Linked DNA regions of Homo sapiens: region 1 is linked to region 2. The links are contacts of gene promoters, found by promoter capture Hi-C in blood cells and fetal thymus (Javierre and others, 2016). All regions are on one chromosome and are shown on one strand. The core of a region is centred on a gene start or on the middle of the fragment in contact, and the rest is flanking DNA. Distances in the headings are between cores, read along the strand shown. Region 1 has its middle 21 kb from the start of KLF10. Region 2 holds the start of ATP6V1C1 (ATPase H+ transporting V1 subunit C1).

Region 1 (5,700 bases), core at 159-2,658, 380 kb after region 2:
GATTCCAGAGTTAGGCAAGACAGCTGAGTCCCTGACTGTTGGTAGGAGCTGAAGCTGGAGCTATAAGCTGGCTCCTTCTCCTTGGGCTGTTGCTTGAGTGAAGAGGCTTTCAGCCTTTTTTTTGGAATCTGAACATTTTGGGGGATTGTTTGGTTCTGTTTTCAGGCTTTCTTTAACAGCTGTGTAGAAAATCCTTTTTAATGGGAGTAAATATGGCTGTGCCCAAACCACCCTGCATCTCTTGGCCAGTGCACAGGCACCCTAGGTGGTCTCTGCAGTGGCCAGCAGCCACTCTAGAAGAGGACTGGAGCAAGAACTTGGCCCTGGCCTTGACTCCTCTGCTCTGGTTTGGCTGGTTTAGCCCTGGACCTGCCCAGTGGCCATGTCTGGGATGGAGGTTAACAGGCAAGAACAACTTCAGGTCAGGCTGATCCTAGGATGCTCAACCCAGCCCCAGGCTAAACCCCCGAGGGAAGATCAGGGTGAGCTTTAAAGCACAAATTCTATTCTCCTGTGCTTGGAAAGTTGAAAACAAACCATTGTGATCCTGGGTTCAACCCATGGGCTTCCCCACTTATCTAGTCTTGGACATAACGTTTAACTTTCCCAAGCCATTACTCTCGGGTGTAGATAGAATGGACGTGATATTGAGACTCACCTCCAAAGAATTGTTTCAGGGGTGAGCAGACATACTGCATTGGAATTAGCCTGTATATAGAAGGTGCTCGATAAATGTTAGTTAGCACTGTTATCCTAACTCCCACCTCCCATCCCCACTGCAAGAGTATCCTGTCAATGCCTGTTTCTGCTCTTATTACTTCTCTTGTCTAGCAATGTCTTCTTCCTCTCCATGGTACACATACAACTCCTGTTGATGATTAATGCCCATGGCAGGGCAGGCGAGGGAAAGGGCCCATCCTGGAGCCACCTGGAAAGAGTTTGTATCTGTTTGCTCGGGCTGCCATAGCAAAGAACCACGAACTGGCTCCTCAGGCCAGACAAGAGAAGGAAGAGAAGGGAATAAGGGATGGAAAGAAAAACCAAAACTGGATTCCAGGGAAACCTCACTGGCCTGAAATCTTCTCCACATCAGCTGCTAGGCAGAGCTGCCTGCTGACTGAGTCCTGGCTGCCATCCCTGCTCAAAGGCCTGTGCTTACGCTCATGGAGGAAACTGAGGATGCTGGGACATTACTGGGGGACTGAAGTAGCCTTTTTTTTCTTTTTTTCTTTTTTTTTTTTTCCTTTTTTGAGACAGAGTCTCAGTCTGTCACCCAGGCTGGAGTGCAGTGGCATGATCTTGGCTCACCGCAACCTCCACCTCCTGGGCTTAAGTGATTCTCCTGCCTCAGCCTCCTGAGTAGCTGGGACTATAGGCGTGCACTACCATGCCCAGCTAGTTTTTGCATTTTTAGTAGAGACAGGGTTTCGCCATGTTGCTCAGGCTGGTCTCGAAATCCTGAGCTCAAGCAATCTGCCCACCTCAGCCTCCCAAAAGTGCTAGGATTACAGGCGTGAGCCACCGCACCCCGCTGAAGCAGCCTTTTTTCTGACATCAGACGTGGCACTTCCAACCCTCACCTTCAGGGACCTCTGTCATTGGCCAGCTCTCAGGCAGCAGAGCACTGCACTCGGACTGCAGCCTGGGGAAACCACAGTGTGAACCCAGAAAATCTGAGACAGATCTCAGTTAACTTAGGAAGTTTATTTTGCCAAGGTTGAGGATGTGTCCCTGACCCAGCCTCAGAAATTCCTGATGACATGTGCCCAGGGTGGTCGGGGCACAGCTTAGTTTTAAACATTTTAGGGAGACATAAGACATCAATCAATATATGTAAGAAGTACATTGGTTCGGTCTACAAGGGCAGGACAACTTGAAGCAAAGGCAGGAAGACTTGAAGGGGTGGGGCGGGGCTTCCAAGTCACAGATAGGTGAGAGAAAAATGGTTGCATTCTTCTGAGTTTCTGATTAGCCTTTGCAAAGGATGCAATCAGATATGCATCTATGTCAGCGAGGAGAGGGGTGACTTTGAATAGAATGGGAGGCAGGTTGGTCCTAAGCAGTTCCCAGCATGAGTTTTCCCTTTAGCTTAGTGACCCCAAGATTTATTTTCCTTTCACAGTGAGAAACCAGCCATTCACAGGATATCCATGCTTTTGGGGTATGTGGTGTGTGTGTGTGTGTGTTTAAGGGATAGAAACTGAAACATGTTATGTGATGAGCATTAATACTGACTTTTGCTTTCAGCTACACAAATGTTTACGGTGGTCTTGCTCTGTACAGGCCATGCTTCCAGAATTAGCAGTCTAAAATACAGATTTTTTCCCCCTGATTTGTCCCTTTTGTTGGTTTTTACTGGGGCCTGGCTGAACCAAGAGGTCAGAAATTCTGCCGTTCGTCCCCACCACTTGGTGTTCTGGTTTTGGCTGATGGATCGCTTTGAGTTTTTCTTTGCTGGTTGTGTTTAGATTAAGTCCCTGGTTAAGTGCACACCTTTGGCTGTGCTGTCTTGCCCCAGTTTTGGGTTTGTCCTACACCGTAGTGTGAGCAGCTGCTACAGGGCAAGTATTTCCTCATGTCAGTTGCCTGAGTGCCTCTTCTTGTGCTGAACAATGGGGTATTATAAATTCATATCCTCTCAGGGGTAAAATACAGAATTTAAAGATTCCTCCTGAGAGCCACCCCATTACCCATAGAGTGGGGTCCAAACCTCTCACAGCATTCAGAAGATTTTCATGATCTGACCATAGCCTCCTAGGCCAGCACATCCACCAACGCTGCCTCCCGTGAACTACAAACGCCAGGGGTATCACATTCCTGCCTTCGAGGAGCTCAGAGCTGGTGTGGAGAGTCCCAGAATGCCTTTACAGATCCAGTAACAACGGCAGGCTCCCCTAAAAGAGCCACTTACACACTCAGAGACACGTGTGGAGGTGGCAGGAATGCTGGGCAGTGCAGCCCTGCTTGCAGGTCGGATGCTCTAGCTCGACGCCCATCCTTCTTGGCCTTGTTGTCATCTGCTTTCTCTCTGGAAAAGGGCCTGCCCCTCCCCCCTGCCCTCCTAGCCTGCGCCACAGCATGCACAGGTCTCCTTTTGGAGGCAAAGATGTCTCTCAGTGACACACCACACGGTGTTTCCACCTAGCACAGGTCTTCACGTCCCCTGAGCCCACCTATCACACACTCCTGCCCTCCGCAGGCCTCTGCTGGTACAGACTGGCCAGATTTAGGTGGAGTGGGAGAGACAGCCCATGAATGGGGATACCCGCAAGATGCAGGCTGAGTGCGGCAGGGCCCCTGACCTCCAGTTTTGTATACATTTTGGAGGGGAAGACTCTTATTCTCAGCTTCCCAGTTCTGACCAGAGGACTTTTTCCGTGTATTCACAGAGGGTCCGTCTCTCAGCAACAGACTAAAATTACAAATTCCACAAGACTGCTGTCCAAGCCAGAATGACATTTAAAAATTTTTTTTTAATTTAAACTTAATTTCTTATCTTTTTATTTAATTTTTTGTTCGTAATTTTTCCCCATACTATGCTGATATAGAGAATGACAGTTTATTACTTTCTGCTGGATATTAGTTATGGGGGATATTAGTTAAGGTATTTGGCCACTGTAACAGATGATCCAGAAATTTTTTTTTCCTGTTTTTTTCCTGTGTACTGTAGTTAATGTTGCTTTTGCCCTGTGGGCAGGTGTTCCTGCTCCCTCCGAGCAGTGACTCGGGAATCCACGCACATTCCATCTCTGGAACCCCAGCCTCTGCCTGTGGTTTCCAACATCACCCCAGAGACTGTTACCGTGCCAGCCGGCCAGAGGGGAAAGAGCAGGAGAGACGGCAGGGAGAGTTTTATGCCCCCTATCAGTTGCTAGGGCTGCTTTACCAAACTGCCGCTACAGCACTTCGGTGGCTTAAAATAACAATAATGTACTCGCAGCCGGGCGCGGTGGCTCACTCCTGTAATCCTAGCACTTTGGGAGGCCGAGGCGGGTGGATCACGAGGTCAGGAGATCCAGATCATCCTGGCTAACATGGTGAAACCCTGTCTCTACTAAAAATACGAAAAAATTAGCTGGGCGTGGTGGCAGGCGCCTGTAGGCTACTCGGGAGGCTGAGGCAGGAGAATGGCGTGAACCCAGGAGGCAGAGCTTGCAGTGAGCCCAGATCGTGCCACTGCATTCCAGCCTGGGTGACAGAGTGAGACTCCGTCTCAAAAAAAAAAAAAAAATGTACTCGCTCACAGTTCTGAAAGCCAGAAGTCCAAGCTGATTCCTTCTGGAGGCTCTAAGGAGGAGCCCATTCCACGCCTGGGGGCTGCTGGCCATCCTTGCCATGCCTTGGCTCTTGCCTCTGCCTTGGTCTTAGCGAGGCCCTGTCCCCTGTGTCTCTCTGTGTCTTCTTCTCCTTTGCTGTCTAAGGACACCTGTCATTGGCTTTAGGGCCCATCCGAATCCAGGAAGTCATCTCAAGATCCTTACCTTAATTACACCTGCAAAGGCCCTTATTCCAAGTGAGCTCACTTTCTGAGGCTCTGGTGGACATGAATTTTGGAGGGAACACGATTCAACCTGCTGCATGGGGCACATCTGGAGATGGTACAGCCCTTGTGCCTACTTTCCATGGGCCAGAAATGAGTCACATGGCCATACGTAACTCCGGGAGACACTGGAAGATGTCACCCAGCTGTGCCCAGAAGGACGAGGAAGCCAATTTGGGGAAGAGCTGCCTGGCTCTGCTACAGGGGAGGAGGTCCTTGTCCCAGCCAGGAAGCTCAGGCTTCCAGGGGGAGGAGTGATTCTTCCCTAGGCAGAACTGGATGTATACTGACAACATCTGATATCTGTTCCCCTTTGTTGATGGCAAGCGCTGGCTGCTCTGCCTGCAGACATTTTCTATGAGATACAGAACTTGAAGATCGGTTCCGCATGCTTGATGTGTGCTGACATAGCCGGTTCCACCACTTGTCCTTTGGGTGAAATTGGGAAGCTTTCCTCACCCCTGCTAGGCAGTCCCCTCCCCAACTTGTTATACCTCATTCCTGATGCTCCCTTCCAGATGTCAGTAACTCCACGGACTGTAAGTTCCCGGTGACCTCTCCTGCGACCTTACTCCCTTGGAATGGGGTGAGACCCTGCCAGGTTGGTGATTTTGTAAGACAGACCACAACTTCTTCCTCTTTGCTCTCCCTTAGGTTCTAGTTTCCAACAAGGAGTGCAAGTTATGTTCTGCTCCTCTAGCAGGGTGGGCAAGCCTGCCTGATTTGGGGGTTCAAAATTAGGAAGCTCATTTACCTGCAAATATAAGTCAGATTTATTTTCCAATATCAATGTAATAAAGGTAATAGTTTTGACCCCAAATGCTGTACTATTTTGTCTTATTGCGCATTTAGTTTAGCTGAGAAGAGATGTGCTATTTGTTGAGAGTTAAAAGTCCCTAACTCCTCTGCTATAGTCCTTCTAACTTCCTCCTACACTTAATTAAATACATACTTATTTTTAAGGGCCTTGCACAGTTCCTGAAACATAGTAAGTGTTTGTGTTTGTTGAATGAATGAATGAAAACTGGGAAAATTATATATATATAAAATTTTGTATATATATGTAATTATATATATGTAATTACACATATAAAAAATTATGTAATTATATATATAATTACTTATGTAATTATATATATAATTACATATGTAATTATATA
Region 2 (5,523 bases), core at 1,386-3,885:
CAATGAATAGCATTTTCATCCACTGTCTTTCAAAGAACTGTGAGAACAAAATAAATATGAAAGTGATCCCTCCCTGTAACTATATTTCAATAAAAGATATTCTGAAATAGATGACCTTACAAAAGGATAAATTTGAAAAGCCAAAACAAATTTTTGCAAAAGAGCCTCTGCTATGTACTTCAGGACTGCCTCGAGGGTAGTTACGACTACCCTGTGAAGGGTACAAATAGAATCGAATCATTCTTTCCCTTCCCCAAGTCCTGAACCCTCTAAAAGTGAATACAGTTAAACATTCTGAAGTCCTCAGTGGAGAGAGAAGGTATCTTGTCTTCAAATCCTTCAGTGGATTACAACAATGTTCCCCTGAGCGGGTCTCCCCTCATTCACTTTTGCCACCCTCCACATTATCTCCCCCCCACCAAAAAAAAAAAAAAAAAGCCACAACCTGTCTCAATCCACTGCCTGTAATCTTCACTGGCTTCCCTCTGTTTTTAGAATAAAAGCTCTGCTTGGCGTGACCCCAGCTTTCTCCACCTGCCTCTCTCCCTCCCCGTTTCAGCCATGCTAGCCTTTCAAAAAGGCTGAAAAGCTTTCTTCCTCTTCACATTTCAGGGCCTTGACATACGCTGTTGCTTCAGCCTGAAATGTTCCTTTTTCGTTTTTCAGAGACAGGGTCTAGCTCTGTTTCCCAGGAGGGAGTGCAGTGGCATGATCACAGCTCACTGCAGCCTCGAACTACTGGGCTCAAATGATCCTCTCGCCTCAGCCTCCCGAGCAGCTAGGACTACAAGCACACACCACCACTCCCAGCTAGTTATTTTTTTATTTTTGGTAGAGACGGTGGTCTCACTATGTTGCCCAGGCTGGTCCTGAACTCCTGGCCTCAGGCAATCCTCCCACCTCAGCCTCCCAAAATGTTGGGATTATAGTCACGAGCCACCCTGCCAGGCCTGGAATGTTCTTTTCACTCACACCTTCACATTCCCTTTTCAGTCTCTTTTCAGATCTCAGGTCAAAAGTCATACCCTCTCAGAGCGAGAGGGTATGAAGAATATAAATAAAATTGTTTTAATCTTTAAAAAGTCATATTCTTAGCAATGCCTTTTTAAAATCTTCCATAATACACATGCCCCTACTACACTCTTTCATACCACTGTTATTCCTTCAAAGCACATTTCACGCTTGCTTGATTTTTAAAATCCATCCCCTCTGCTTGCCTGTAAGCTCTATAAAGACAATTTTCTAAACCCTACCATCAGCACTGTACCTGCATACAGCATGTATTCAGTACACATTATTTGCATGAATAAGTAAACGACTACCATTCAAAAGTCCTCGTTACCTGACTCCCAACTTTCTTTCCCACTTCTCCGCAGTGCAATCCACTGTAAAAGCTACTTCTGACTCCACCAGAAGCATTCCCTACCCCCATCTTCAGGCTTTCAAATCCTGTGGCTTTCCCTGCCTGTAAAATTATCCCCATTTCTCTCAACCTGTTCAAATCCTGAGGGCTTGCCAAGACTCAAGTTTTCTTTCCTCCAGAATATCTTCCCATAGTGCCAGTTTACACATGTGTCGTTGCTCCACACTTTCAAAGCACTTCGCATTCTCTTTTTGGTAAGTATACATAAACTGCATCGTATTTTAACGTGTCCTGTGTGTAGACTTTTCTCTCCAACGTTAGTGCTAACTCCTAAGGATAGACTGTTCACATCCCACCCGTTCCATTCCCAGAGCGGCGCTAAGTACTGGGCTCGCACTGAAGCATGTGATTTTTCCCTAACATACCAGAATTTTCCTCTGAAAAGAATACTAGCTTCCCCCTTACTCCTGTTTCTCAAGTGATTCAATATGCCTTATGTGACTCTCACCAAGTTCTTTTCTAGGGGTTTGTTTTGTTTTGTTCTGTTTTGTTTGCCTACCCTCCCCCATTCTACTAAAAAATAGTTGAGTTCTCTGGATTCCTGTTCTTTCTCATTCCTAGAGGGACCTTGTGTACTCTGTGAGGGTTCCTTGCCTGCAGTTAGGGGCTCCTAGGCCTTTAAACTGTCATCCCACCACCCCCGACCCCCGACACCCGCGCCCCCCCCAACACACACCCAGTGAAGGCACTTGCGCTAGCTGTGACCTCACACACACCACTCCATAGCCTCACCTGGACCTATCACTTCATTCCCCTCAATCAATCAGGCGGCGTGCATTCCTACCCAAGAAGAAAGATCCCAGACCGCTGTATCTCTCCTTTCTGCCTGTCATTAACTACCCACGAGAGCTCTTTCTCTTTTTCCCTCCTTCTCTTCCTTAGAGACGGAACCTAGGCCCAAGACGGTGAATTGGCGCCGAGAAACCAGACACAGCCACCCAGCCAGCTCCAGCTCCAACGCCACGGTCTCTGCCCCCGCACCCACCCGCGTCCCTCCCAGGCAGCGACCGGAGCTCATGCTTCGGCCTGACCAGGACTCCCCATCCGGGGAGAGCCATCGCTCACTGACCCAGGAAGGTGTCAAACGAGGAAGTAGCAGCAGTAACAGGTACCGAGGCAGACAGCCTAGCGGACGCTATCGGCTCAGCGATCCATCCCTTCCCGACCTAAGCTCCGGCCTCACGGCTTCCTCTACCCAAGCGAACACAGAACAAGTCACGTGCCAGCCCAGCAGTCAGCTGACCGCGGCGCGCGCTGCTCCGCCTACGCCCGCGCCACTGCGCAGCCGCAGCCGCTGCCACTGCCGGGCCTTGGGAGAGGGGCGGGACTAGGAGGCTACGGGGCGGCAAGGGGACCCTATATTCGGGGCTGATCGCTGTTGTTCCAGAGTGGGTGGGGTTTTCCGCTTCTTCCAGTGTTGCAAGTGGCGTTTTGTCCACCACTTGTAAACGTCAGCGCCACTGCAGGTTTCTGCGGGTCAGAAATTGTCTCCAACCCCCTACAAGGGCTTCTCCACTTGGGGTTTTCTTCGTCAGCTGGGTTTTCTACCTAGTATACTGGCTAGTAGTTCATTTTAGCAGATTCACATTTTCCTGAAGTCCACTTAGACTTAATTTCATAAATGGTCCATGGAGCATTTACTGTGCGCCAAGCACTGCGCTCGTTCTTAGGATTGCCTACTGGAGAGAATCACTCCTTGCCACGAAAGCGCCTCATAGATAGTTGAAACCACATTAGATAGTGGGAAACCAAAGGTTTTAGGACAGAGGCATAGACAGGGGAAAGCATCTCCTTTGGAGAAAAATAGGTAACAAGCTCCTCCCAGGAACCCTGCTTATTTCATTAGCTTGGGGAGATAGATAGTAATGTCCTAATTTAGAACACAGAGTTTTAGAAGTAGTAGAAATTTTGAGATGTTCTAATTTAATCCTTTTAGATCTACAGATGAAGAAAGTGAGGGCACGGAGTTGTTCAGCGCAAGGGAATAGATACCAGGTGTTGAATCCAGGCTCTCCTACTTACTAGTTGTGTGACCTTACTCCTCTGAATTTCAGCCTGTTCACATGCAAAGTGGTGGTAATAATACCTTACACAGGTATTGTGAGGATTAAATGAAGCCTGTGGTTAGCACAGTGCCTGGTACATAGGAAACAACCAGTAAATGGTCGTCATTATTACTATGTATTATAGGACCCAGGTTTTCTGACCTATACTATGCCTTTTCTGCTGTGTCCCCCTACAGAAATTCACCACAGAATTTCTCAGAGCCTCAGTATTAGGTTGGACAGAAAGTAACAACCACCAGACTATCCCCAACCTGACGCTTTCACCAGTTTTGGATGAAGTTCATGCAATTACAATAACCAGTTCTATAACATGGCTTCAGAAACTTATCAGAATTCCAGAGGCTTTTATCTGCCATCACGAAATGAGCCTAAAGGCATTTTTTTTTTGGTTAGGTCCACTAAAACTTTCTGCCATGATGCAAATGTTATCCTGTGCTGTCTGTACAGTACCCACTAGCTACATGGAGCCATTGAGCACTTGAAATATGGTTAGTGTGACTTAGTAACTGAATTTTAAAATTTATTTCACTTTAATTAAAATTTAAATAGCCACATGAGACCAGTGACAACAGCCTTAGACAGTGCAGTTTTAAGGTCCATGCTTGAACTATCTTGGTTTCTTCGTGCTTGTGTGTGGTCCTGAGGCAGACTTTTTGTCTTGGATTCTTAATTTCTAAACTGAATTATACCTCGCGCAACTTTCCAACATTTGGGGTTTTTTTTTTAGTTTTGGGGTTTTTTTTGAGATGGAGTCTCGCCCTGTCGCCCAGGTTGGAGAGCAGTGGTGCGATCTCAGCTCACTGCAAACTCCACCTCCCGGGTTCAAGCGATTCTTGTGCCTTGCCCTCCTAAGTAGCTGGGACTACAGGCGTGCACCATCACACCCAACTAATTTTTGTATTTTTAGTAGAGACGGGTTTTCCTCATGTTGGCCAAGCTGGTCTCCAAGTCCTGAGGTCAAGTGATCTGCCCACTTGGCCCTCCCAAAGTGCTGGGATTACAGGGGTGAGCCATCGTGCCTGGCCTCCAGTGTTTTAATTACCATGTTATACTTGGGAGGCAGTACAACAGAGTGTTCAATAAATGTTAGCTCTAATTTTTATGAGGTTTAATGTATCTCACTTAAAAATTTAGGAAACATAGCTGGGCATGGTGGTGCATGCCTATAGTCCCAGCTACTCGGGAGGCTGAGGTGGGAGGACCCCTTGAGCCCAGGAGTTCGAGGCTGCAGTGAGCTAAAATTGCACCATACACTCCAGCCTGGGCAACAGAGCAAGACCCCATCTCAAAAAATCAAATAAAAATCTAGCAAAGATGTTTAATATAAGCAGGGCATGATTGCTCTCCAGTGGTTTCTAATAGTAAAGTAATATGTTTTTACAGAGAAGCAACTCACTTTTTAAAAACTGTACTATGCATAGAAGCATACTAGGTAGCCATGGGCATGTCACACCTTTTCCTCCATTTCCACCTATCTAAAGACTACTCATCTCCAAACATCTAAGTTTAAAGCACTCCTAAGATGCATGGGAGAAGATTTATTTTTTTCTTACAACTTTTTCCGGGGAAAAAATTTATTTTTTCCTTTATTAAAATATTGAGCTTATTTCAGTTACATATTTTTGTCTTCCCACCATTTCCATTTGTCTGACCACAGCTACTACTATGTCCTATCATAATATTCCATACATACATATATACTGAAAACCAAGCAAAGAGCCAGGCGTGGTGGCTCACACCTGTAATCCCAGCACTTTGGGAGGCTGAGGTGGGCAGATCACTTGAGGCCAGGAGTTTGACACCTTCCTGACCAACATGGCAAAATGCCATCTCTACTAAAAATACAAAAATTAGCTGGGTGTGGTGGTGCATGCCTGTAATCCCAGCTGCTTGGGAGGCTGAGGCAGGAGAATTGCTTGAGCCTGGGAGCCAGAGGCTGCAGTGAGCCAAGATAGTGCCACTGCCCTCCAGCCTGAGTGACAGAGCAAGACTCTGTCTCAAAAAAAAAAACAAGCAAACGATGGAGTTTCATCT

The links. The method cuts DNA at HindIII sites, captures the fragments that hold promoters and counts their contacts. A CHiCAGO score of 5 or more calls a contact.
Region 1: a fragment that was not itself captured here is called in contact with the fragment with the promoter of ATP6V1C1 in region 2 in 1 of 17 cell types (neutrophils); the score reaches 7.5 in neutrophils.

The regions. Positions count from the first base shown.
Region 1 is chr8:102,631,880-102,637,579 of GRCh38, reverse strand. No RefSeq gene overlaps it. Among named protein-coding and RNA genes, the nearest start is that of KLF10, 21 kb to the left of the region's middle. RefSeq lists enhancers at 2,511-3,011, 3,012-3,512. The HindIII fragment of the contact is 7,166 bases long and covers 1-4,991 here.
Region 2 is chr8:103,018,195-103,023,717 of GRCh38, reverse strand. ATP6V1C1 (ATPase H+ transporting V1 subunit C1) reads right to left here and starts at 2,635. Exons shown (of 13, transcript NM_001695.5): 1 at 2,493-2,635. RefSeq lists an enhancer at 2,196-2,405. The HindIII fragment of the contact is 13,168 bases long and covers 592-5,523 here.